Regions from separate parts of the Homo sapiens genome. Here region 2 is linked to region 1. Evidence: promoter capture Hi-C in 16 types of primary human blood cells and fetal thymus (Javierre and others, 2016). All regions are on one chromosome and are shown on one strand. Each heading gives the region's core, a stretch centred on a gene start or on the middle of the fragment in contact. The rest is flanking DNA. Distances are from core to core; before and after follow the strand shown.

What was found. The method cuts DNA at HindIII sites, captures the fragments that hold promoters and counts their contacts. A CHiCAGO score of 5 or more calls a contact.
Region 2: a fragment that was not itself captured here is called in contact with the fragment with the promoter of SRBD1 in region 1 in 1 of 17 cell types (neutrophils); the score reaches 6.8 in neutrophils.

Annotation. Positions count from the first base shown.
Region 1 is chr2:45,607,598-45,614,325 of GRCh38, reverse strand. It overlaps SRBD1 (S1 RNA binding domain 1), which reads left to right and starts at 3,059. Exons shown (of 21, transcript NM_018079.5): 1 at 3,059-3,107. RefSeq lists an enhancer at 3,239-3,408. The HindIII fragment of the contact is 4,677 bases long and covers 1,676-6,352 here.
Region 2 is chr2:44,985,931-44,992,658 of GRCh38, reverse strand. No RefSeq gene overlaps it. Among named protein-coding and RNA genes, the nearest start is that of SIX2, 20 kb to the left of the region's middle. The HindIII fragment of the contact is 2,887 bases long and covers 1,559-4,445 here.

The sequences.
Region 1 (6,728 bases), core at 1,810-4,309:
CCTTAATCCAGTCAAGATGACACCCAAAATTAACCATCACACTGATTGACTCTCAGAGATAAAATGTTTGAATTTTCATAAGTACACTTGATTTTTAAAATGGCAACCCACCTTCTGTGTCAAGAGCTTTAACTTACTTTTCTCATAAGAGAAATTTGTTTGTACTCTAGACATATTATTGGGTCCAGGAGTTAGTGTACTATTTTTAATGAGTACCTATTATATGTCAAGCATTATTAGGCACTGTGTGGGTGGCGGGAGAAGGTGGAGAGGGGAGGAAAATTTGTTTTTACTTTAGACATGTTTTTGGGTCCAGGAGTTAGTCTACTATATTATTGAGTACCTATTATATGTTAAGCATTATTAGGCACTGTGTAGGTGGAGGGAGAAGTTGGAGAGGGGGAGATAAAAAATTACCAAGAGTTAGTTCCTAGATCCAAATATCTATTAGTAGGTGAAACAGTTGCATCTATTAATATATTAAGAATTTTTGTTCTTATGAAACTTAGTTTGAGGCCAATAGAGAGAATAGCTTTGTTATGTTTCAGGTGGTTAGACAGTACTTTATTTAGAGTATTTAGAGATTCGACAGTTCTGGAGCACCTTAAACATTGAGAGTCTCACTGGCCACCATAGTGGAGCGAGAAAAGGTCTTTGCTTTGAGTTTGTGGTACAGCTGGCCATCTGTATCTGCATTCATGGATATGGAACCTGCAGATGTGGTGGGCCAACTTTTTCTATCACTGATTGGTTGAGTATCTGTAAATTTTGCTATCTGTGGGGGGTCCTCAGACCAATCCCCTGTGGATAGACAGCAAATTGTATGTGGATACCTTTCAGAGTACTTGCTTTGGAGTAAAGCAGATTATTGGATTTGAATCTCAGATCTACAATTTATTAGCTGATGTGACCTTAGATGAATTATTTAACTTCTTTATACCTGGTATTCTCATTTATAAAAATGGTTTAATAGCAATATTGCATTGGGGTAATATGTGAATTATATACATAAATACATCTAAAAGCATTAACTTAGTGCCTGGCACAGGTAAGTAATCAATAAAGGTAAGTTATTACTATTATTATTACATTTGCCCTGGGGAGCTAGAACCCATAGGGGAAGGACTTGAAAACAGATAATAACATACAAATGATAATGTATCAGTGAATATCATGGGAAGAGCTATATACTTTGGAGGGATAAAACAACCTCCATCAAATCCAAAACATGTTTTCATTACTCCCAAACCCTATTGCATAGTCTCAGGTGGGTGTCCGGATTATTCCAGGCTTTCAGTCTAAACCCATGAATTTCTTGGAATTCAGCACTTGAGATCCAAAAGTAAACAATAGATTGGGCAATGTCCTAGACAGAAAAGGCAGTTTTTGTGGGAGGGCCTGTTTTATACTTAAGTGATTACAAATTTTCCTTGACAGCGTGTAGTGGGAGTGACTCTCTTATAGAATTCCAAGGGAAATATTCTCTGGACAGTCCTTATTGGCCTTTAGAGTAGGCCACTACCTACATACTTTAATTTTAGAGAACCTGCTTCAGATTTTATTTTCCCCAGATGTCTGATGTCTAAAATCTTAACAGGCTATTTATTTTTGTGATTTTTTTTTTCTTCCCCAGCTGTAAGGCAAAAATCCCTTGTGGGGAGAGGAAAGTCAAGCTTCAATGCTTTGCTGGCCCACTCTTACTCTCCTCCTCACTGTAGTGTGGCTACTACCTGCATACCCAACCCTTGAAGCTAGACTGTTTTGCTTGGGTGTCTGTTTCCTCTGGCTGTATCTGGTTCCTACTCTTGGTCGTAAATTCCTCCAGGGCAGGACTTATGTCAAAAGACTTTGCAGTATATTAGTTCACCTTTACCCTTACTACCTCTGCAATGATTGGAATGTCCCCTTCAAAAATTCAAGTTGAAACTTGTCATTGTAATAGTATGAAGAGGTGGGACCTTTAGGAAATGATTAGGTCATGAATGAGTTAATTCCATTATCACAGGAGGGTTAGTTATTTCGGGAGTCAATTGGGTTCACATGCCTCCCCCACCCCTACCCCAGTATGATGCCCTCCATCATATTTTGACACAACAATAATGCCCTCTGTCTTGGACTTCCCAGCCTTCAGAACTACAAGCCAAACAAATCTCTTTCTTTATAAATCTACCAGTCTATGGTATTTGGTTACAGCAGCAGAAAATTGACCAAGACAACCCCTTACCATAAACCTGAGTAGCAAATGCAACATCAAAAGTAGGTGAATAGTAAGTAGTACATTATTGTTGTTGATTTCTATGATCTGGTTTCTCTTCCCACAATCCTGAACGGTAAGGTGTTCTCTAGTATTTCTTCAGGACCATAAATTGTGAAGGAGACTGTGATTGTAGTAGACAATTCTAGGCCTTCTGGAACCATCACTAAAGGCAACATACGACTGTGCTAATTAAAAGGAAAAAAAAATCCCTAAACAATCTCGGAAACTGATCTTTCCTGGCCAACAATCTCAGATATAGAAGATTAGATTTACTAAATTTAGAAAGAATCCTTTTTTTTTTCCCCCAATCACAAAAATTATCCAGTAAAATCTATGCTCACTTCCGGTAGATCTGCAACAAGGCACGGTCACAGGTCATTTCAATAACTTGCTAGGCTCTTCAGTACTCAGAGTCCCTGGAAATAAGTCATTAGCAGTGGAAAGCTGCTTTTTAGAATTTTCTAAAACAAATCCATGGGGTTTTGATCTGCTAAATTCGAATGTAGACAACAGCAGCCTTATTTCCCTACTTTTATAATCTAATTTATTTGGCTGTATCTGTGGGCTTAAGAGTTTAGTGTTCTTGGTAAATAACACGTAAAAAAAAAGTCATTTTTCATTTCTACGAACCAGCCCCACCCCGGCGCTCCCTCGGGATCCTCGCTCTAGCCCCGCCTCCGTCCAGCCTGGCTCCGCCCCGTTCGGTAGCGCCGCGCCTTGGAGGTCTGTGGCTAACTTGGTCCGGAAGAAGCGAGGCGGACCTTCTGGCGTTTGAAAAACTTCCGGCGGGAACCGGAAGGTGCGGTGGCACTCACGGAATCTCGGGTCTTCTGACGTGCCGGGCGGGAAGGTGAGCTGTGCGTGCGCCTTGGCGGTCGTCTTGCGGGTTCTCAAGAGCCCGGCGTCCGGGCTCCGGGATCTTTGGGGCCATTAAAAAAGTTCTGAGCGCTCATTTGGGCAATAACACCCCTTTTTTAAAAGTGAGAAGTTCATTACATTTTACTGTCAGCGGTCTCTCACAACCGACCACCCGAAAACCCCTCCTAGCTACCTCGTGACACCTCTTTTCAGCCAAATTGCTGCAGCTCTTAGCGCATAACAGACATAGAAAAGCCTGGGCAAGCCTGTTTTTTTTTTTTTTGAGACGGAGTCTCCCTCTGTCGCCCAGGCTGGAGTGTAGTGGAGCGATCTCGGCTCACTGCAAGCTCCGCCTCCCGGATTCACGCCATTCGCCTGCCTCAGCCTCCCGAGTAGCTGGGGCTACAGGCGCCCGTCATCACACCCGGCTAATTTACCTGGATTGTTTTTATACCTAAAATTATCGGAGGTGGGAGAGGAAGCACCCTTTTCACGGTCATGGTGGCCCTGTCTGAATCAACTGCACCTTCTGTAGTGCGCCTGGCATGTAGGAGGCGCTCAGTAACCGGAGGAAAGGAATGAATTGGGAACTCTCTAGGCAACTTTCCTCGAACCCCTCACGTGACATGTCATTAACATATTGTGTGTGGAATGGGAAACGAGACTAGTCTTGGTGTTCCAGGCACTGGGCTATAGTCCTTTGCCACATATCTTTCCCCTTTGAGTAAACTGTTTCACCTCATTGGGTCTCAGATTTCTGAATATAGCGGGACTGTCTGATCTCAGGTTCTTTCAGCTCTAGTATTTTGTTTTTGTGACTTGGGAATCTGCTAACATTCAAGCACTCTGTTGGTCCTTCATGGAAACTTGTTTAGGTGCTTCTTAAGAAATTGTCCTCCTTTGTTTGCCTTCTTGAATTTAAATTTTTTTTTCCAATTTTAATTTAGTATTTGTTAGTGTGCACGTCCTTTTGCCCCTTTGTCCTGATTTGCAGTCGTCCTAGTTTAGTGGCTCTTCCCTTAGTAACATCATAGCAACCTCCAAATTATTGGTTTGGAATATGCTCATGTGCCTACAGTGATTAAGATAGTTTGAAAGGAGGGAAAAATCCCAAGTCACTGAAGAATAGGAATATTCTTATGTGCCATCACTTCTTCAGAAAGAGATGAATGCAATGTGTGGCATTGCCTAAGAGTGGTGGAAAATAAATGTATATTCCTCTGTAGAGACCATATTTGTACATATTATGTTCATTTAATAGTTGTAGGGCATCTGTTAAGTGCTAGGTTCTATGATATGGAAGTGAATAAGGCACATGCATTTCCTTCTTTCATGGTATTTACTCTCTTGACAGCAGTGCAAGCAATAAACAAGTAAAATAAAAATAATTACAGATTGTGTTATAACCTACTGTATACAGGAAGTAAATAGGCTCCTTTTAAAATATAATTGAGAAACCTATTTTAGGCCTGAAATGTTAAGATCTAAGGGATGCAAGGAGCCAGCCAATTGACAAGCAGGGGGAAGAATACTCCAGGCAGAGAGTACCTGAGGTGGGAAAGAATGTTATGACAAGAGCTGAGGAGCTCCAGCAAGTAGTAAAGGTGGTTAGAAAGGTGAGCAGGGCTCAGTCCGACAGGGCCTTTTCAAAGGCCTCATAAAAATGTGGCTTGATTCTAAGTGAAGGATGGGGTGGGAAGTAATTCGTTGTTTCTAAAGCATATTCTAAATGATCTTGAGTTGATAAGTGGAGAATGAGTTGCAGGGGCAAGAGTGGAAGTAGGGAGGGCAGTTAAGAGGCGAGTGTGGTAGTTCAAGTGAGGGAGGTTGAGGACTAAAGGCTCACTGAAGATCGTGGAGATTCAAGACATTTTGGAGGAGGATCTTATGTGACTTACTAATAGTCTGGATATGTGAGATGAAAGAAAAAAAGATTTGTAACATTTTGACTTAGCAAATGGAACTTTGGAGGATGATAATGTGTTCATTTTCTTGATTGTAGTGATATGTATACATATGTCAAAACATCAAATTTGCACACTTTAAACATGTGCAGTGTATTGCATGTCAATTATATGTCAATGAAGCTGTTAAAGAATTTTCTGGCCAGGCGCCATGGCTCACACTTGTAATCCCAGCACTTTGGGAGGCCGAGGCAGGCAGATCACCTGAGGCCAGGAGTTCGAGACCAGCCTGGCCAACGTGACGAACCCCGTCTCTATCAAAAATAGAAAAATTAGCTGGGTGTGGTGGTACACGCCTGTAATCCCAGTTACTTAGGAGGCTAAGGCAGGAGAATTGCTTGAACCTGGGAGGCAGAGTTTGCAGTGAGCTGAGATCACTCCAGGCTGGGTGACAGAGTGAGACCGTCTCAAAAAAAAAAAAAAATTTTTTTTTTCAAGGTTCTGGCTTAGCAAATAGGTGGGTGCCACTTATTGAGATGGGAAGGACTGGAATAGGAACAGGTTTTAGAGCAAGAAATGGTCATCAAGAGTTCCATTGTGGATGTGTTAAGTTAACTGTGAGACATCTAAATAGTTTCAGAGACAGGCAGTTTATTATAGAAATCTGAATGTTAAAGGCACGGTTTGGGATGGAGGGATTAGGATTGTTAATAAGTAGGTGACATCGGTATGTAAAACCGTGGAGATGGATGAGGTTTTGGTTAATCTAACAAGTTTTATGACACAAAGTAAGAGGATATGGGAGTAGTGGAGATGGAGAAACAGGCCTCAAGAATATTGGTGTTTAAACTGGAGAATACATACTCCTGGGGGTGTACCTGTCGTAGGTAGTTTTAAAGACATAATTTCCAAGTCTTCAGCTTTTGTATATATTCTTTCTAAATCTGATCTGCTTGAAATTGGCTTGTGTGTTCATGCAGATTCTGCTTTCCCACCTTTCCTTTTACATTGATATTTTTAACATTTGTGAAAAGAAATATTACAACTCACTCATCTTTCCATGGTATATTGCTTTCGGGGTGCCTTATAAAGAGGCAGTTGGAAATATTTGATTTAGGGGAGCCTTCTTTAAGGATAATGGTTAAGCAAAAACATAAGCCTGCCAAGGGTTTGCCTGTCCCTATTTTAAACACATTTCTGTTAAGGCTGAAGTGTGGAGATAGAATTAGTATATGGTAGTCTGTGTGGGAATGTTCTGAATTCAGGCATATTGTAGAATGTGGTGGTAGGAGTGATTGTAAGGTGATCTGGGTGGGTTGTTTGATGGGAAGCTTAGCACCTTCAAGTTTTTACTCTTGGACTGGTTAGATTCTCCAGAGAAAAGCCTTCCCATTCTCCTCCCTAGAGGGCAGTATTTTAGGAATTTAGTGGCGGAAGACTAGGGTTCTCTGCCTTTAGCATTCAGTCTGTATGGTTCCCATGCCCACAGTCTAGACTGTTTCATTAATACCTTCTCCAGAGAATAAACTTACAGTCTTTTTCCTGGGGCAGTTGCCTAATAGCATGAAGTGAGGTAGGACACTTAGAGATATTCCTTTGTCAGTTTATACACAGCCCTAACCCGTTTCACCTTTAATTCCAAAGGTATCAGCTACTGCTTCATATGAATTTTTTTTTTTTAGAATACTGCAGGGTAAATTGGTTTGGTT
Region 2 (6,728 bases), core at 1,753-4,252, 620 kb after region 1:
ACTAGATAAGGACTTTGAGATCAGTTCAAAGAACTATAGGAAACTCTGTTTAAAGAACTAAAGGAGGCCAGGGACAGTGGCTCATGCCTGTAATCCCAGCACTTTGGAAGCATTGCTTGAACCCAGGAGTTTGAGACCAGTCTGGGCAACATAGTGAGGCCTCATCTCTATAAAAATAAACAAATGAATAAATAAAAAATGTTTAAAAGAAGAACTAAAGGAAAGCATGAGAATGATGTATCACCAAAATAGAAAATAGCAATAAAGAAATAGAAACTATAAAAAGGAACCAAATCGAAATTCTGGAGTTGAAAAGTACAGTAACTGAAAAATTTTACTAGAGGAATACAGCAGAAGATTTTATCTGGCAGACAAAGGAATGAGCAAACTTGAAGATAGGTCAGTTGAGATTATTTAGTCTAAGCAACAGAAAGAAAAAAGAATGAAGAAAAATGAACAGAACGTATGAGATCTGTGGGACATCATCAAGCATACCAACATAAGCATAATGATAGTCCCAGAAAGAGAGAAGAGAAAGAAAGGGACAGACAGAAAAGAACATTTGATAAAATAATGAACAAAAACTTCCCAAATTTGATGAAAAGCATAAATGTACATATCCAAGAAACTCAATGAATTCCAAGCAGGAAAACCCCAAAGAGATCCATGATGATACACATTATAATCAAAGTGTTGCAAGATAAAGAGAGAATCTTGAAAACATCAACAAAGAAGCAACTCATCATGTACAAGGGACCCTCAATCAGATTAGCAGCTGATTTCTGATCAGAAACCGTGGAAGCCAAAAGACAGTAGGATGACATATTCAAAGTGCTGAAAAAAAGAAAAATAAACACTTCTCAACTGAGATTCTACATCTGACAAAACCATCCTTCAGAAATGAAGGAGAAATTAGACATTCCCAGATAAAGTGAGTTTTGTTGTCTGACAATATTCTCAAGTGCTACGAAATGAGCCTCCAGTTTACACTGAATACTATTTTACAAAACCATGACTCTCCTACCAGGATGGGAAAAGGCCATGGTCCTCAGTTTGGTCATTGTCCTGAACTGCCAATTAGCAGTCACTAATCTTCACCCCCACCATTAGAGATGCCACTTTTGCCCCCACTCACCCCAAATAAAAACAAACCCAGGGCTAGATTCAGAGGGACTGGCCCCTAGCCTCCTTTTCCAGATGTCCTAAAGGGCAGTACAAGGGCCCTGGGGAAAAAAAAACATATAATCCACCTCTCAGTTTTTCAGTTGAGAAAGCTAAGGTTCAGAGAGATGAAGTGACTTTCCTGAACCTACCCAGGTGGCTGGTTGTCCTGGCTCCACAGGCATTGTTGACTCCTCCTTCCTCCACCCTCTATAATCATTTTTTAAATCAAGCTCAAATCTATATAGAAGAGATAATTTAGTCAGACATCTGTGAAATATCAGAAGAAAGAAAAAAGGAGATGGAGAGAAGAGAACATGAAGACAGAGAAGGAAAAAGCAGAATGAAGAGAAATGAAGAGACTGGACAAAAAAAGGAAAAGAGAAAAGAAAAAGCTTACAGGAAAAAGAAGACAGAAGAGGAATCAAGAGGTATAAGGTAAGAAGGAAAGGAAGATATAGGAGGAGTCAAAGTGAGGAGTCAGGAAGCTCAGGGATACCTGGATTTATCCATAATCAACTAACAGTTTTCCTAGAATGGGAGGTGCCACATTCCCATACCTCAGAGAAGTTGCAAAGCAATGTCATCTTCTTTTGCACCATGAAATATAGAAGTCAACATGAGAGGTAGAATCTCTTGGTGGCATAGGGTCTTGGCCCACAGAACCCTGGCCACATCCCTCTATACTTTCTTTTGCTGATTAACACTACCATGGTAGCTCCAAGGGCCAGTTCAGGGCTTGACACTGGCCCAGCAATAAACGCTATCTTTGTTTTGTTTTTTTGTTTTTGTTCCTGTTTTATTGAGACAGAGTCTTGCCTGGGCTGGAGCGCAGTGGCACCAGCACAGATCACTGCAGTTTCCACCTCCAGGGCTTGAACGGTCCTGCCATCTCAGCCTTCTAAGTAGCCACGACGACACGCACACATCACCATGCCCAGCTAATTTTTTGGTATGTTTTTGTAGAGATGAAGTTTTGCCATGTTGCCCAGGCTGGTTTCAAACTCAAGGTAATCCACCTGCCTTGGCCTCCCAAAGTGCTGGGATTACAGACATTGAGTCACCATGCCCAGCCTTACCCTTGTTCTTATAACACAGCTAAAATTTTGCCAGAACTTCAAAAAGGATTTTACTAAAAATGGTTCCTTCCAATATTTCCTGCTACCTTCTTGGTTCTGTGCCCACCTGGCTTCATCCTCCAATTTAGAGCCCTACAGCTGCCTCAGGCCACTAACCTGGTTTAGTTGCTCATCTGGACTTCTTCCCTTCCCTCTTGACAGTCCTTTGATTTCGGTAGAACCCAGAAATAAGATACCCTGGTAGGGTCACTTATACCAGATACCATTCCTTGACTCCCATCTCTTCCTAACAGCCCATAGATTTTCCTTTGGCTACTCATCTCTCCCCCTTGCATAGCAGCCATGTAGGTTTGGCTCATACTGACCCCAGCCCCAGCTTCAGGGGAGGATCCTGATTGTCTTAATACCAACAATATAACTCCACCCCTCTTGCCACAGTAATTGCTTAAAAGAATGGTCATGTAACCCAGGCCTAGATCAACATGGCAGTCTGCATGCAGTCATGATTGGTTTAGATTTGTTAAATCACAGAGAAGTGCAGAACTTAAGGACCTAAGTCCATTAAAGGAAGAGAAGATTGCTTTCTCTCTCTGTTTTGACTGAGTGATATGAGGTTTGTGATCTGGAACTGCTGCAGTCATTTTGCTACCAAGAGGGAAGATAGCCTGAGGGCAAGGCCACCCACACTGAGGACGGCTGACTTTTGAGAATTCTGGAGAAAGTAAGCCAGAGCCTTGATCCAATTATACTTGAAGGTTGCCCTACCTCTAGATATTTCATTTATGTGAACCAAAAACATTTTCCCATCATTGGATATTCTGTTTCTTGGGACCAAAAGCATCTTACTGACATCACATTCCACTGGCTTCAATCCTGTCAGAAATCACAGGCCCTTATCCCATATTTCCTTTCATCAAGGAAACCCAGGCTGACCTTCTGCAGAGTGCTAGGGGTGACGCTTCAAACAAATACCAACGGCAAACAGGGAATTTTATCCTAGAACAAGATCTCTTGAATTCTTAGCTCTGATGCCTCCCAGCCAGTTTCCTAAGACTGGAATCCTCCTAGGCAATGCTTCTGCCCCCATACCCATTATTTATAAATATCCTACCCACTTCTGGAATGTGCTATAGTCAGATAACATATGATGTGTAATGAGGGCATTGCTTACCAATGAGAACTTGGAAAATCCACATGTGGGATATTTAGTTTCTCAATAATTGAGCAGGGAGAATTACTTTATCTCCAAATCAGGAAAACAGGAGATCTTTGATGAGATAGAAAAAAAGTGACAGAAGCTGGGCACGGTGGTTCACGCCTGTAATCCCAGCACTTTGGGAGGCCGAGGTGAGTAGATCACTTGAGGTCAGGAGTTTGAGCCCAGCCTAGCCAACATGGTGAAACCCCATCTGTACTAAAAATACAAAAATCAGCTTGTGTGGTGGTGGGCACCTGTAATCCCAGCTACTCGTGAGGCTGAGACAGGAGAATTGCTTGAACCCAGGAGGTGGAGGTTGCAGTGAGCCAAGATCATGCCAATGGACTCCAGCCTGGGTGACAAGAGCAAAAGTCCATTTCAAAAAAACAAAAAAGAAAAGAAAAAATAAAAAAGTGATAGAGGCTCAGTTATCATAGTGTGCTCTAAGAAGCAATCAGTATTAGCAACATAGGGGTCTGTTTTGCTGCTGTATTCTGTGAAGCTGGCCTGGGAAGGGCTATCTTCCTGCATTTTCTATGCCAGAGTGATGACTGACAGCTGGAGCTAGAGGCTAAGAGGAGGAAGAATTAAGACTTTGAGGGAAAATCAGAGTGTGAAAAGATGGGGGTGAGTGGCAATGAGGAGGGAAGAAAATAAAAGATCAGAGAGAAGAAACTTCCTGATGCTCCTCTAAGGTGAATCCAGTATAGACCCATTAGGTGACCAAAGGTGATAGGGTTTGGATCTGTGGCTCTGCCCAAATCTCATGTTGAATTGTAATCCCCAGTGTTGGAGGTGGGGTCTGGTGGGAGGTGACTGGATCATGGGGGTGGATTTCTCATGAATGCTTTAGCACCATCTCCTTGGTGGTGTTCTCATGATACTGAATGAATGAGTTCTTATGAAATCTTGTTGTTTAAAAGTGTGTAGAACCCCCACCCCTCACTCCTGATCCTGCCATGTGAGACACCTTACTCCCACTTTGCCTTCTGCCATGATTAGAAGCTTCCTGGGGCCTCTTCAGAAGTGGAAGCCACTATACTTCCTGTGCAGCCTGCAGAACCGTGAGCCAATGAAACCTCTTGTCTCTATACATTACCCAGTCTCAGGTATTTCCTTATAGCACTGCAAAAATGGATTAATACACAAGGAGGTCCCCCCTTGTGTATTAAAATAAAATAAGCAATAATTTTCATATTTCTTAGTACTTTGTGTATGTGCTTGATAGGCTATTAGTATAATTTTCTTTCTGGCAATGATCTGCACCTTCCTACTTCATGCACTGCTATTAGTCTCCTTTATTTAGTCTCCACTTCTTTCCTGATAATAAAACTTGCAATTTGTAGCTGGGTACATGGTGCTCAAAATAAAACTACATTGTCCAGCCTCCCTTGCAGCTAGATGTACTATGTAACTAAGTTTCAGCTAATAAATATAATTGGAAGTGTTGTATGCAAATTTCTAGAAGTGTTCTTCAAGGAAGAAGATTCCTTTCTTCTCCATTCCTCCTTCCTGATGACAGGAATACGGATATGATGACTGGAGCTTGCACAGCCACCTTGGACCAAGAGGCAGTATGCTAAAGTTGGTGGAGCAGCCAGACAGGAGCCTGAAACTTACATGATTTTGAGTAGCTATCTAGCCCTAGACTTCTGACTCCAGACTTCATTTAAGTAAAAGAGAGATAAACTCTGATCTTATTTTAGTTATCAATTTCTTGGGTTTTCTGGCACATGTGCTTGCATCTAATTCTAACTTCAAAACTACCTTTCCATATTCAAAAAGCATAATCTTTCTCCTGGAACCCTACAGTCCTTTTATTTCTGTAATTTGCATTCATTCTCTTAATATTTCCTTGGGGTATAGTATTAAGTCTGACCATTCTTACTTCAAAAACGGACAGAAAAATTATATGACTCAGTTGAAAGTACAGCCTAAGGCAATGAATGGGCTTAGCCAAGAAGGTGCAGCGCCTCATTTCCCATTGCATGCTGTTCCCACCAGAGGGTATTATGGACAGGTAAGTTGCAATACAGCTAGGCACTGGATGCAGGAAGTGTTCAGCCACATAGATCCCTAGATGAATTTGTGTGGACTCAGGCGACTTCCAGAGATGTTCTCACTTTTAGTTCAGATTTTTATCAGGCTGCCTCTCTCAGGAAAAGCCCAGAAGTAGAAGAGGTCTGTTTAAAACCCACAGCTGTTTTTTTTTTTCATAGCTAAGGAGGAGATAAGCTATTGAAAAACAGAGAGAGTTTAATTTTTCCACTTTCCAGCCTATTGAATCAGTACCAGAAATATTTTTACCTAATTTTTATGAATAATCTGGAAGAATATGATAAAATCTCCAGATTTTCAGAAGACACTATGCTTTTGAGGGAGTGAAGGACCAAGAGGATGTGAACAAATTCAGGAAGATCTCATGAAGGCTCCTGAGAAAAAGACCAGTAAACTGAGGTAAGTGATGGCCAGACTGGAGATGGATAATAACCCACCTAAATGTGTGAGTTGGGAGCTGAAGGTGAAGGCACACAGATTATTCTTAGCTACTCTCCAAAGACATTAACTAATGAACTGGTGTAGTCAAGAAGTCCAATGCAATTCAATTGCACAATATTAATCAAGAGTCTATGATGTGCCAGGCATCATACCCAGTGCCAGTTTGCAATTATGTGCATAACGTGGACCCTGACATCATGGAGTACATAGCCTATTTCCAAATGTCAACCGGAAGAGGTTTGGAAATACTCTTCTTCCCTGTTCTTTGGAATACTGTGTGCAAAATGGATCACTATGCTCAAAGGAAGCCATAACAGAGCTGGAGAAGGTCCAAAGAAGAGAAAGAACAAGAAGGCAAGTGTCTGCCACCATGCACTTGTTACGTATGTCACCTCCTCTGTGAAGTCCTCCATGGTTGATTCCCCTAGGTAGAATTGACTTACTTTTTTTTTTTTTTTTGAGATGGAGTCTTGCTCTGTTGCCCAGGCTGGAGTGCAGTGGTGTGGTCTCGGCTCATTGCAAGCTCCACCTCCCGGGTTCATGCCATTCTCCTGCCTCAGCCTCTTGAGTAGTTGGGACTACAGGCGCCCGCCACCGTGCCTGGCTAATTTTTTGTATTGTTAGTAGAGACGGGGTTTAATCGTGTTAGCCAGGATGGTCTCAATCTCCTGACCTTGTGATCCACCCGCCTCAGCCTCCCAAAGTGCTGGGATTACAGGCATGAGCCACCGCGCACATCCTGAATTGACGTACTTTTACTTGAGTGTTTCACAGTACTTTGTGAACAATTC